3 separate regions of the Homo sapiens genome follow, and all the other regions are linked to region 1. The links are contacts of gene promoters, found by promoter capture Hi-C in human tissues and cell types (Jung and others, 2019). All regions are on one chromosome and are shown on one strand. The core of a region is centred on a gene start or on the middle of the fragment in contact, and the rest is flanking DNA. Distances in the headings are between cores, read along the strand shown. Region 1 holds the start of PPIB (peptidylprolyl isomerase B). Region 2 overlaps CSNK1G1 (casein kinase 1 gamma 1). Region 3 overlaps CSNK1G1 (casein kinase 1 gamma 1).

Region 1 (4,662 bases), core at 590-3,089:
CATTTTATCCATCAACCTGATTTCTTTTGAAAGTGGGAGTGGGAGAAAGGCTGCTGTGATGCCATTTTAGCCTTAGCTCCTCATGTGCAGGAGGCTACTTGGGTTTTTTGAGTGTTTCTTTGTTTTTGAGACAGGGTGGAGTGCAGTTTCACGATCACAGTACACTGCAGCCTTGACCTTCTGGGCTCAGGTGATTCCCCCACCTCAGCCTCTGGGGTAGCTGCGACTACAGATGCGCACCACCACGCCCTGCTAATTTTTGTATTTTTTGTAGAGACAGGTTTCACCATGTTGCCCAGGCTCAAACTCCTGGACTCAAGTCATCTGCCTGCCACAGCCTCTCAAAGTGCTGGGATTACAGGTATGAGCTACTGTGCCCAGCTGGAGGCTACTTTGAAAACATGATTTAGTAAACATTTTTCTCTGGCTATGGCAGCCTGAGACCAGTGAGTGAAGAAAGAGGCTTAACAAAATAGGAGAAAAAAAAAAAAAAGGGATGAGAGATGGATCTGGAAGATCATCTTTGTCAGTATAACAATGTTTAAAACTTCCTCCTGATTGGGGTTGTCTGAATTGAGGTGCAAGGATGGGAAATAAGAGAACTGTCTTGAAGCTCTACAACCTGTGTAAGGCCGCTGTAATGAACAACAAAGTTAATGCCAGTGGCCTTGCATAACTTCAGTCTCAGGTCAGCGCCTCATGAAGACTACATTGCATAATTTATGTAAATGGAGCCCTGCCTATAATCTGTGCTGTGACGACCTGGAATTTCTACGAAGTTAATCGTTGAAAATTAGTTTTAAAGACGTTTTAACGCCATAGGTCCAAATTTTGGAAGTTTGTGTTTTGGTTTGTTTTGGTGTGTAAGACTCCCAGTACCAAAGTATCTATGTTGTAGATTGGGACAACACTAAGTGTGTGAAGACCTAAAATAGCCCTGTGGGGACATCTAGTAACTATTCCTGACCTCCGGAAAAAGGCATTGTATCCTCAGGCCGTGGCATAAATTATTTCTCATGTCAGTGCGGATGTGAAGCTATCCCAACCAGGACTTGTTGGGCACTCAGTACTGCCGCGCTGTGAGGGAGCTGTGGACAGAGTAAATGCAACACAGTCCCTTCCGCAGAAAAAAAAAAAAATGTAGTCTATTGGGGGAAAAGGTAAAGGAAGTTAAGAACAGCGTATACAATAAGATGTCCATTGATATACACAACAGTAAGCACAGCAAGATTACAGAAGGGAGAGAAAAATGGGTAGTAACTTGACGGCCTCAGTAAAAAAGGAAGTGGGTTGTGCAGCAAGTTTTGCAAGACAAGTGGAGGAGCCGTACAAGGCCACGCTCGGTAAGGATAAATGTCCCTGAAGTGTTTGGAAGCCACAACGTTTAGAGCCAATTTGGCGGTGACAAACACTTGACTGGCCCAAAACAGTGACAAGCTTCCCGTGCCCCTTGTCCAGGCCCACGTATTTGCTAACCTCAAGCGCCAGCTACCGCAGGCCAGTGGAACAGCGCTCCGGGCGGGGCGGGCCGCGGAGCATGCCGGGGCTTGTGGTCTTCTCGGAGCCCGGGCCCGTGCTCTGCGAGGCCGCCTTCCGCCGGTGGCCTTCCTGTGGGCGGGAGAGGGCGGCCGGGAGCCCAATGAGGGAGCAATAACGTGGCAACCACCCACGAGCCCGCGTCGGTGCCCGCCCCGCAGGGGGACCTACTATCCGGCGCCGAGCCGGAGGGGGGAAACGGCGCCCGCCGCCCGCCCGGAGCCCGCGAGCAACCCCAGTCCCCCCCACCCGCGCGTGGCGGCGCCGGCTCCCTAGCCACCGCGGCCCCACCCTCTTCCGGCCTCAGCTGTCCGGGCTGCTTTCGCCTCCGCCTGTGGATGCTGCGCCTCTCCGAACGCAACATGAAGGTGCTCCTTGCCGCCGCCCTCATCGCGGGGTCCGTCTTCTTCCTGCTGCTGCCGGGACCTTCTGCGGCCGATGAGAAGAAGAAGGGGCCCAAAGTCACCGTCAAGGTCCGGTGGAGTCCGCGGCATTTACGGTGCCGGAGCTCGGGCCCGGGCGGCCTTGGCTTGGCCTTGGCTCAGCCCCTCCTCCCTCGGCTTCTGTCTGTGGCCTCGTGGCGTCTGGGCCGTCCTGCCCATTCAGTCCAGGGAACGACCCGGACCCACCCCGACACCCCCAGCCCCTGCCCTGACCCAGGGAGTTAGTTGGATCCCCGGATACCCATCTGGGGCCGACACTGGCAGTCTCAGAGCAGGCTTTTTGCAAACACCCCTCAGTGCTGGGGAGATGGTGAAAGATCACGCCTGCCGGATTCCGAATCCTTTCTCTCCTTAAGCCAAATTTTAGCCACTTCCAATTACAAAGCACAGTATGTATACTTCAAACTTAAGTGGTGAACTTAGGCTCCGCTCCTTATGGGTTTTCTAATGTTAATTTTTAGAATCTGGGTCCATTAGCTGTTTAGAGCAAATATTGTTATCCTGTAGTCCAAGGAGGGTATAGATAAGCATGTTTTCCAAGAAAAGGGTCTGGAGCTTTCATTAGATTCTCATAGGATTTTTACCGTCACCAAAATCAGATTCAGAACCACTTCTCTAAAAATATGGCTCTATTCTCTCTCCCATCCTCAGGTTAGCTTCTTGTACCTTCCCTCCCCTAGCAACGCCCCTTTAAAGAAGCTAAGTTGGAAATGGTCTCTTTCCTCAGGTGTATTTTGACCTACGAATTGGAGATGAAGATGTAGGCCGGGTGATCTTTGGTCTCTTCGGAAAGACTGTTCCAAAAACAGTGGATAATTTTGTGGCCTTAGCTACAGGAGAGGTAAGTGGCTGGAGCAGGGGTAGTCAACTCACATGAAGTGAAATTGGCACTGGGGATGGCAGCAAACTGACCTGCAGAGTTCAGCCGATCTGTAGCGTGGACCTCACTGAGCACCGACTGCCTGTTGCCCTGGGAACACAGTATTGCCCTTTCTTAAGAGTAATGGGGCCCTGACCAGGCACAGTGGCTCACACTTAAAATCCCAGCACTTTTGGAGGCCAAAGTAGGAGGATTGCTTGAGCCCAGGAGTTCAAGGCCAACCTGAGCAACATAGCAAGACCCTGTCTCTACCCCCGCAAATTTTTTTTTTTTTTTGAGACGGAGTTTCACTCTTGTCGCCTGGGCTGGAGTGCAGTGGTGCGGCCTCAGCTCACTGCAACCTCCGCCTCCCGGGTTTAAGTGATTCTCCTGCCTCAGCCTCCTGAGTAGCTGGGATTACAGGCATGCGCCACCACGCTTGGCTAATTTTGTATTTTTAGTAGTGACAGGGTTTCACCATGTTGGCCAGGCTGAACTCGAACTCCTGACCTCTGGTGATCCGCCTGCCTTGGCCTCCCAAAGTGCTGGGATTAGAGGTGTGAGCCACTATGCCCGGCCAAAAAAAATTTTTTTTAATTAGCTGGGTGTGACGGGGTGCACCTGTGGTCCCAGCTACAGCTACTCAGGAGGCTGAAGTGAAATGGAGGTTGCAGTGAGCCATGTTCATGCCACTGCACTCCAGCCTGAGCAATAGAGTGAGACCCTGTCTCAAAAAAAAAATAAATTAATTAAAAATAAAAGGCCGGGCGCAGTAACTCATGCCTGTAGTCCCAGCACTTTGGGAGGCTGAGGCGGGTAGATCACCTGAGGTCAGGAGTTCGAGACCAGCCTGGCCAACATGGCGAAATCCTGTCTCTACTAAAAATACAAAAAATTAGCCAGGTGTAGTGGTAGGCGCCTGTAATTCCAGCTACTTGGGAGGCTGAGGCAGGAGAATTTGTTGAACCCAGGAGGTGGAGGTTGCAGTGAGCCGAGATTGCCCCACTGCACTCTAGCCTGGGCAACAAGAGGGAAACTCCATCTCAAAAATAAAAATAAAAAATAAAAAAACAGGCTGGGCATGGTGGCTCACACCTGTAATCCCAGCACTTTGGGAGGCGGAGGAGGGCAGATCATGTGAGTTTAGGAGTTTGAGAGCAGCCTGGGCACCATGGTGAAACCCCATCTCTACTAAAAATACAGAAATCAGCTGGGCATTGTGGTGGCACATGCCTGTAATCCCAGCTACTCAGGAGGCTGAGGCTGGAGAATCGCTTGAACCTGGGAGGTGGAGGCTGCAGTGAGCGGAGATTGTGCCATTGCACTCCAGCCTGGGTGACAAGAGAGAAACTCTGTCTCAAAAAAATAATAATAAAATTTAAAAAATGAGATAAAAAAGAGTAAGGGGTCCAGAGCTTCCTGGGGAGACTTCACCTAGGGTGAGGGCAGTGGGTTTTAAGGAAACAACAGTGCCCTATTTCAGTTTATATTAACTTTCCATTGAGCCAGCAGGTGACCTTTCTTCTCAGTTTTCTTGTATCTGTTCTTATGATTGGAAGAAATGAGGGGAAAAGCATTATGTGATGTAGAATTGTATAAAGCTTGGGAATTGTATGGAGGCAGAGGGATTTCCACATCTGTGTGTACCATGCCTGTCCTGTGGCGCCTGCCCGCTCACTTAGTAGCACACTGAACAGTGAAAGTGGTCAGCAGTGGTGTCTCTTCTGCGAGCAGGAGTTGTGGACTTGTTCCTGTGAGGCCTATTTAATGTAATGTCTTCCTGCTGCCCCATACCACCTCCTTACCTTCTCTTCCCTTTTTCTA
Region 2 (4,502 bases), core at 380-2,879, 84 kb before region 1:
AGGATGGTCTCGATCTCCTGACCTCGTGATCCGCCTGCCTCGGCCTCCCAAAGTGCTGGGATTACAGGCGTGAGCCACCACGCCTGGCCAATTTTTTGTATTTTTTTAGTAGAGACGGGGTTTCACCATGTTGGCCAGGATGGTCTTGATCTCCTGACCTCGTGATCTGCCTGCCTCGCCCTCTCTAAGTGCTGGGATTACAGATGTGAGCCGCCGTGCCTGGCCATATTTTTTATTTTATTTTTTCCAGAGTCCAGATGAGGAAGAACATTGGGATATTTTTAAAATCCTGATTATATTATCCTATTGATGATTAGGCATTGACTATTTTTTTATTGTAATTGCATATTGGTCCCACTCTCCCCACTCCCTGCCATAAGATTATAAGCTCCTTGAAAACAAGCCTTGTGTCTTCTTTACCCTTGTATCTCAAGCGTATCTTAAGGCCTGGTGTGATGTCATTCTGTCACATAGCAGTCAGCAAGTAGTTCAGTGGCAGAAAGAAGTTAGAAAGATTTAATAAGCTTGCCTTTTTAGATTTTTACCAATGTTATTAATAAAAATATTCCTTGTGATGGTTAAAAAAAGGAAATTTATTTTGAAAGAAGATCAATTGACAAGAAAATAGACAAGATTTCACCATGTGTCCTTGTAAATGTGAGCATGAACACCAGAGCTTGTTTTTAACTTAGAGGCACAGCATTCCTCCCCCTATTTTTTCAGAGTAAGTTCTCAGCTGCAAGTATGACTCATTGGTAGTTAATGTTTGAGCAGCCAGTGCGCATATGCCACTCTTTTGATTACCAAGGTGATGTTGCAGCATTGTAAATAAACAACCTTTTGTGCCAAAGCCACACAAAGACCACAGTAACATAATTAGTGTTTTTACTCACTAGTGTTTTGTCTGTCATTGTTCATTACTGTCCAGTGAATTATAAAATATTTGGATTTCCTGACAATGAATACTTAAACAAAAAGCCCATTGTGACTTAGGTTTGTTCAGTGAATTAATCATTGCTTATAAATGTATGAAATTATTTGGGAAAAATGATTGATTATGAATTTAAAGAATACCTATTGCTGTGATATCCAGAGCTTGAGACATTAAATTCCTAAAATAGGAACTTTTTGTTGTCCTGGGACTATGACCATTTTCTTCAGTACCCAACTCTTAATCATTACCTTGGCCTTTTGGACCCCAGTTTCACATTGATGACCTGATCTAGAAATTCATACCAATTCTCTAATTATGTAGAGATAGAACAAAAATGACAGCACTGGGTAATTGTGAATGTGGTTCTGGTTGGAGGTCTTCCACATTGTCTCTGCTTTTCCTTGTGTGATCTCTAACTCTTTCTCTTCCATTCCACTTTGTTTTCTAGTGAGTGGTCACACTTTTCAAGCTTTGTTTCTTGATTACAGTTTTACCACCAAGATTTTCAAGACTTAATGCTTAAGAATTGATATCTCCAAGATAATCAGGGAAGAAAGTAAAGGGGACCATGAGAACCTTGAAACTGAGAATAAGCATTTTATTTTCCTGTTAGCTATCATTTTTTCATTTCTTATAGAAACCAAATTGTAAAATCTTATAACTATTTTTCTTATTTTCTTCAATCATCAATGTTATGTTAATTGTATTATGGTCACCATAGGCAAGTTTTAATTTCTTTTCTTTTTATGGGAATGATTTTAGGTTTCAGTATTTCCTTAGGGTCTTTTACTTAGGAAGATACATACATTATCAATTTAAAAATTTTCCAATCCATAAATCTTTTTTCCAGCATAGCTCTCAGTTTTGCTTGTATTCTAGCACACAGGAACAAGATTTGGTGGATGAGAGGTTTGGGGCAGAGATATGAAAGAGTCTGTGGCCGAAACAGATCCGTATTAGGAAGAGTGACAGTATGAGAATGACTCCATAGCTGACCACATGACAACAGCGTGGTATATGTTCGTTAATTGACTAGAAGATGAATAAGCCAGAACCAAGCATGCAGCTGAAGTGGGAGGAAAAAGGGAGGGAGGGGATGAGTCAGCAAGGACCAGAGCAAATGAAAGAGGATTGAGGGTTTAGAGGGTAGGTAAACGGCAGGATAATAGGATTCTTTGCAGTAAATGACAGGAAAATGGAGGTCTCTGACATAACCTGAAATTTCTAAGTCTAGGCTCCCATATCCTGGCTTCCCAGCAGCTATTGTAATCTAGTGACTCTTCTGATTTGGCTCTCTTATAAAGGAGAAGCTAATCCTCAAATTAAAAAATGACAAGATTCCTCCCCCCCCCCCTTTTTTTTTTTTTTAAAGAGACGGACTCTTGCTCTGATTCTGAGGCTAGAGTGTAGTGGTGCAATCGTAGCTTGCTGCAGCCTCAAATTCTTTGGCTCTAGTCATCCTCCCGCCTCAGCCTCCCAAGTAGCTGGGACTACAGGCGCAATGCACCATAGCTGGCTAATATTTTTAGTTTTTTGTAGGGATGGAGTCTCACTATGTTGACCAGGCTGGTCTTGAACTCTTGGCCCCAGGTGATCCTCTCACCTTGGCTGCCCAAAGTGCTGGGATCACAGGCATGAACCACTGTGTCCAGCCTTAACAAGACCCCAGTTGAAACTTCACAAATGCAGTAGTCAAAACAAAATCTCATTGGGCAGAGAAAGCCAGTTAACTTGTTAAATACCTAGTAGGCGGTTCATTTTTAAAATTGATACATAATATACCTATTTATGGGATATATGTGATATTTTGATACATGCATATCTATGTGTAATTATCAAGTCAGGGTGGTTAAGCTACTCATTACCTCAAACATTTACCATTTCTTTGTGTTGGGAACATTTCAAATCTACTCTTCTGGCTATTTTGAAATATACAATAAATTATTGTTAACTATAGTCACTCTGCTGTGCTATCAACACTAGAATTTATTGCTTCTAACTGTATGTTTGTACCCATTAACCAAGCTCTCTTCATCCTCCCCACACCCAACCATTCCCAGCCTCTGGTAACCATCATTCTATATGAGATCAACTTTTTAAGTTTTCACATGAGCGAGAACATGTGATATTTGTCTTTCCCTGCCTACCTTATTTCAGTTATTATAAAGGCCTCCAGTTCCATCTGTGTTGCTGCAAATGACAGAATTTCATTCTTTTTTTGTGTGTGTGTCTTTTTTTTTTTTCCTTTTTGTGGAGAACCGGGGTCTCGCTATACTGCCCAGTCAGGTCTCAAACTCCTGGGCTCAAACTATCCTCCCACCTCGCCTCTCTGAGAGCTGGGCTTACAGGTGTGAATTTCATTCTTTTTTATGGGTGAATAGTATTTCCTTGTGTGTATATGTACCACATTTTTTTGTCCTTTATCTGTTAATGGACACTTAGGTTAATTGCATATCTTTGCTATTATGAATAGAGCTGTAATAAACATGGACGTACACACATGTTTTTGATAAACTGATTTTGATAATGGCTGTGAAGATCATTTGCCCATTTTTAAATCAGATTATTATTTTTACTATTTTTTGCTATTGAGTTGTTTGAATTGCATATATATCCTGGCTATTAATTAATCCCTTATTAGATACATGGTTTGCATATATTATATTTTCTCTTATTCTACTGGTTGTCTCTTCACTCAGTTGTTTCCTTTGCTGTGCAGGAGCTTCTTAGCTTGCTGAAATTCCATTTGTTTATTTTTGCTTCTGTTGCCTGTGTTTTTGAGGTCTTACCTGAAAGATTTTGCCCAGACCAATGTCATGAAGCATTTCCCCAATGTTTTATTCTAGTAGTTTCATAGTTTCAGGTCTTACATCTAAGTCTTTAATCCATTTTGATTTGTTTTTTTTTGTATAGTTAGAGATAGGGGTCTAGTTTCATTTCTCTAAACAGACCATCCTTTCCCTACTGAATGTTCTTGGCACCTTTGTTGAAAATTAGCTGGTTCCAAATATGTGGGTTTATTTCTGGGTTCTCTCCTCTCTTCCCTTGGTCTCTTTGTCTGTTTATGCCAGTAACATGCTGTTTGGTTACTGTAGCTTTGTAGTATATTTTGACATCAGGTAGTGCGTGATTAGTGGGTGATGCCTCCAGCTGTGTTGTTTTTTTTTCCCCGCCTTGATACAGGGTCTTACTCTGTTACCCAGGCTGTAGTGCAGTGATGTGATCACGGCTCACTACAGCCTCAGCCTCCCTCACCACGCCCTGCTAATTTTTTGTAGAGGTGGGGTTTTGCCATGTTACACAGGCAGGCATCAAACTCCTGGACTCCAGTGATCCACCTGCCTCAGCCTCCCAAAGTGCTGGGATTACAGGTGTGAGCCATTATGCCTGGCCTTGCTTTGTTCTTTTTGCTCAGGATTGCTTTGGCTATTCAGAGTCTTCTGTGATTTCATAAGAATTTTAGGATTGTTTTTTCTATTTCTGTGAAGAATGTCTTAGGTATTTTGATATGGATTGTGTTGAAGCTATAGATTGCTTTTGGTATTATTAATATTTTTACAATATTCTT
Region 3 (4,480 bases), core at 1,231-3,730, 110 kb before region 1:
CCCGGGAGGCGGAGCTTGCAGTGAGCTGAAATTGTGCCACTGCACTCCAGCCTGGGTGACAGAATGAGACTCTGTGTCCAAAAAAAAAAAAATATATATATATATACACACACACACACACACACACACACACACACACACACACACGCACATACATGCATATATACTTTTACCCCTGGACTGGGTGTGGTGACTCACGCCTACAATCCCGGCACTTTGGGAGGCCGAGGCGGGTGGATTACCTGAGGTCAGTAGTTTGAGACAAGCCTGGCCAACATGGCAAAACCCTGTCTCTACTAAAAATACAAAAATTAGCCAAGAGTGGTGGTGGGCACGTGTAATCCCAGCTACTCGGGAGGCCGAGGTGGGAGAATTGCTTGAAACCGGCGGGGCAGAGGTTGCAGTGAGCTGTGATTGCACCACTGCACTCCAGCCTGGGCAACAGAGTGAGACTCCATCTCAAAAAATATATATATTTTAATAGATAATAAAATAATATTAATATATTATTCAAATATATCAATATTAATATATTATTCGAATATATCAATATTAATATATTATTCAACTATATCAATATTAATATATTATTAAATATATCAATATTATTATTAAATATATCAATATCAATATATTAAATATATCAATATTATTATTAAATATATCAATATTATTATTAAATATATCAATATTATTATTAAATATATCAATATTAATATATTAAATATATCAATATTAATATATTATTAAATATATCAATATTGCTATATTATTAAATATATCAATATTAATATATTATTAAATATATCAATATTAATATATTATTAAATATATCAATATTGCTATATTATTAAATATATCAATATTGCTATATTATTAAATATATTAATATTAATATATTAAATATACCAATATTAATATATTATTAAATATATTAATATTAATATATTTATTATATTAAATTTTATTATTTTAATATTAATAACAATATGAAAACTTGTAGCAGGGGTAAAAGTGTGTGTATATGTATTATTTTATGTATGTACATATGAATGAATGAATGACAGGGTCTCACTCTGTTGCCCAGGCTGGAGTGCAGTGGTGCAATCACAGGTCACTGTAACCTTGAACTCCTGGACTCAAAGGATCCTCCCATCTCAGCCTCCCAAGTAGCTAGGGCTGAAGGGTGCACCACAATGCCTGGCTAATTATTTAATTTTTTTGTGGAGGCAGAGTCTCACTTTGTTGCCTAGGCTGATCTCAAACCCCTGGCCTCAAGTGATTCTCTCACCTTGACCTCCCAAAGTTTTTGGATTACAGGTTTGTGCCACAGCACCCAGCCTCCAACTTTATTAATAACATCTATATTTCCTCTCAAAACTTGCATCACTGTCTAGAATAGAGGTCTATATTCTTATTGGCAGGAAAATATATTTGACTATTTTGTCTAATGATCAAGTTCAAGTCACTGACGTTGCATGGTTCTAGTTCTTCCGGAATTGATTGCTTTACCTTGAACTCTGTTCATGATTGTTTTTTCACTTTCAACTATTTTCTTTTTCTTTTTTTTTTTTTTTTGAGATGGAGTCTCGCTCTGTCACCCAGGCTGGAGTGCACTGGTGCGATCTTGGCTCACTGCAAGCTCTGCCTCCCGGGTTCACACCATTCTCCTGCCTCAGCCTCTCAAGTAGCTGGGACTACAGGTGCCCGCCACTACCACCAGCTAATTTTTTTGTATTTTTTATTAGAGACAGGGTTTCACTGTGTTAGCCAGGATGGTCTCGATCTCCTGACCTCGTGATCCACCTGCCTCGGCCTCCCAAAGTGCTGGGATTACAGGCGTGAGCCACCGTGCCCAGCCTCAACTCTTTTATTTTTCAAAGGACTGTTGTACCTTTTTTTTCCTACCTGGGTGGCTGAAATATCTCATTGGTACGTCACTCTTTTTCATTTTCATGGGTTCCCATTTGACCTTTTAATTTTCCACATTCATATTCTAGAGGTCTTCAAATAATAAATGATCCGTCTGTTCTGAAAAAGTACTTCAATTCTGTTTCAGACCCATAATGAAATATTTACTGATAAAATGATGTAACATCTGAGATTTGTTTCAAAATAATAAAGTTACTGAAATTGGGTAGGTTACATGGGGGAAAATCATATGCCTTTGAAGTTATGCATAAAAATTTTAAAAATACAAAAATACTTTGGTATTTCTCTGCTGCAGAAAATCATACTTTCTAGAATGATTCACTCCAGTTTTTCTGCCCACCACTATAATATAGAACATTTTACAAATTTTCTTTGTAAAGCATAGGCCCTTGAAAGTACATAGACACTTTCTGAAAAATGGAGTATGAGTCCTGCTTTGATGCTATTTATAAATGACTTTCAACTTCTCCCTTTCTTTTGGCCCTGGCTGCCTTTTACCTCACTCCACGTAGCCTCACTTTAGACTTTCAGATGTTAGAAGCACTCTCATTTTTCTTACTAACAGATTAATCAGAATATCATGTGTAATACCTTAGGAAAGTTATATAGAAACTAGTCCAGCCACTGACCAGCTTTTCATTGCAAAATGAAATAATTGAAACTGCTTTTTAGAAGATTTTTATTGATGGCTCTTATTATTCTTTGATCATAACTCACACTAAAAAAATTGTGATTTAATATACACATAGTTAATATCTGTGTATATGAAGTTTCATGAAATAATATTTTATCCTTACTGAGTATAATGTACTCTGATACTTTTTATTTTATATATTTTTTCTTTAAAAAATTTGGTCAAGACATTCTTTAAAATCAATATTTGAATGTATTTACTTTATATCCCACTAATGGATCATGTTCTACACTTTAGAAAACATTTGAGCATTGTCTGTCTTGTTAATAATAAACATGCTGTATATACCATCCCAGTGATATTAAGCTTTAATAAGTTTTTCTTTTATTATAATGTACTTATTGTTGTTGATAGGTAAGCCCTTTAAAAAACTTGACACAAGAAAAAATTATTCTTGCCTTAACTACTAATCATTTGGGAAATGTTTCTGCATAGTATACTAATATTTTAATACTATTAAGTTAGTAAAAGTGAAAACATTATCTGCTTTTTTTCTTTAGAGTTGTATTGCTATCGTTATCTTCTTACCCCTAATCATACTGCTCACTTAAAGAGATGCTCTTTGGGCCGGGCAAGATGGCTCATGCCTCCCAGCACTTTGGGAGGCCCAGACGGGAGGCTCACCTGAGGTCAGGAGTTTGAGACCAGCCTGGCAACAAGGTGAAACCCATCTCTACTAAAATACAAAAGTTGGTTGGGTGTGGTGGCATGCACCTGTAATCCCAGTTACTCGGGAGGCAGAGGCAGGAGAATTGCTTGAACCTGGGAGGCAGAGTTTCAGTGAGCCAAGATCATGCCACTGCACTCCAGCCTGGGCAACATAGCAAGACTGTGTCTCCACAAAAAGAAGAGATGCTTTTTGGGTGGAGGTGGCAATAGGCCAACCTGTCCTCTTTGCCCTAAATAGACATGGTAATCATCTGAGTTATATAAAAGTAGTTACTTGTTTTAACTACTAATTGCCTCAAGTTCATTTGGCTGGATTTTTTACAAGTTCTAGGTAGTAATTTATACATGTACTATTTTCACTGAAGGGCAAGAAAATGTGACAGCTGGAGCTCTAACTAAACAGACTGTATGTTCCTTTATCAGTATGGCTCTGAGAACTGAGAACTCCTAGTTCTTTGAAATAATGCAGTGTCTGATGAAGCTTACGGTGAATGTTGTCTCTGTAGGTGACTTACAGAAACAGGAAGTCTTCATGCAGAGGGTTTTATGGACAGCATCACATCCAGGACTGCTGCTTTGAAAGGGCTGAGTTTAAATATAAAGCTCCAAAAACTACTGTGTAATGCAGTTCCTTTTCTATTAAGAATAAAGGAACCAATAGCCAGGAAGTGAGCTTGGGAAGCGTTGTGGATTTTGTGCAACAGATACTAAAAGCTTTCAGTGCTTGGGATTGTGCCAGCTCATCAATGGTACTTTTCTGTCCATTAAATGGCTTTCCTTCCTCATAGTTATTGGTATGCTTTTATTTTTATTTTTTTAGCTGAAGCAGTTATTTATTTTAAATGGGCAGGGTTTTAACATAATCTTTGTAATTAAATTCATCTGGAGCAAAATTTTTGAGTACTGTGTATTATTTAGGATAGTGGCTGAGTGATTGTCTAAATTTCTGAAACATGGCTGCATTTTGTGTTGACCTGTAAAATTTTAATGATGCATTTGTGCCCTTGCAAAGAAATTCATTTGAGGCAATGCTTAGCTCAGGAGACTTATCAAGTCACCTCCAGTGCCTCTTAAGAAAAAGGGTAACATGTATTTGATTCTTTTGGTGCCCTTAGAGAAATTAAGTAAACGCAAGCTAGCATTTTGTGATGTATCAGCCACTATGTTGGGTGTTACATAGGCTTG

What was found. Contacts are between HindIII fragments. The study calls those that stand out against the background at their distance.
Region 2: a fragment that was not itself captured here is called in contact with the fragment with the promoter of PPIB in region 1 in 4 of the 25 tissues and cell types used here (IMR-90 fibroblasts, bladder, lymphoblastoid cells and 1 more).
Region 3: a fragment that was not itself captured here is called in contact with the fragment with the promoter of PPIB in region 1 in 5 of the 25 tissues and cell types used here (IMR-90 fibroblasts, bladder, hippocampus and 2 more).

Annotation. Positions count from the first base shown.
Region 1 is chr15:64,160,199-64,164,860 of GRCh38, reverse strand. PPIB (peptidylprolyl isomerase B) reads left to right here and starts at 1,839. Exons shown (of 5, transcript NM_000942.5): 1 at 1,839-2,009; 2 at 2,707-2,820. The coding sequence starts at 1,875. RefSeq lists enhancers at 1,325-1,374, 1,481-1,981, 1,925-2,174, 1,982-2,482, 2,716-3,280 and a silencer at 1,515-1,874. The HindIII fragment of the contact is 5,042 bases long and covers 1-2,938 here.
Region 2 is chr15:64,244,426-64,248,927 of GRCh38, reverse strand. All of the region lies in intron 4 of CSNK1G1 (casein kinase 1 gamma 1), which reads left to right. Among named protein-coding and RNA genes, the nearest start is that of PPIB, 84 kb to the right of the region's middle. RefSeq lists enhancers at 584-878, 1,768-1,827, 1,948-2,448, 2,449-2,949. The HindIII fragment of the contact is 4,593 bases long and covers 1-3,925 here.
Region 3 is chr15:64,274,045-64,278,524 of GRCh38, reverse strand. The region is part of intron 2 of CSNK1G1 (casein kinase 1 gamma 1); the gene reads left to right. Among named protein-coding and RNA genes, the nearest start is that of CSNK1G1, 80 kb to the left of the region's middle. The HindIII fragment of the contact is 3,728 bases long and covers 617-4,344 here.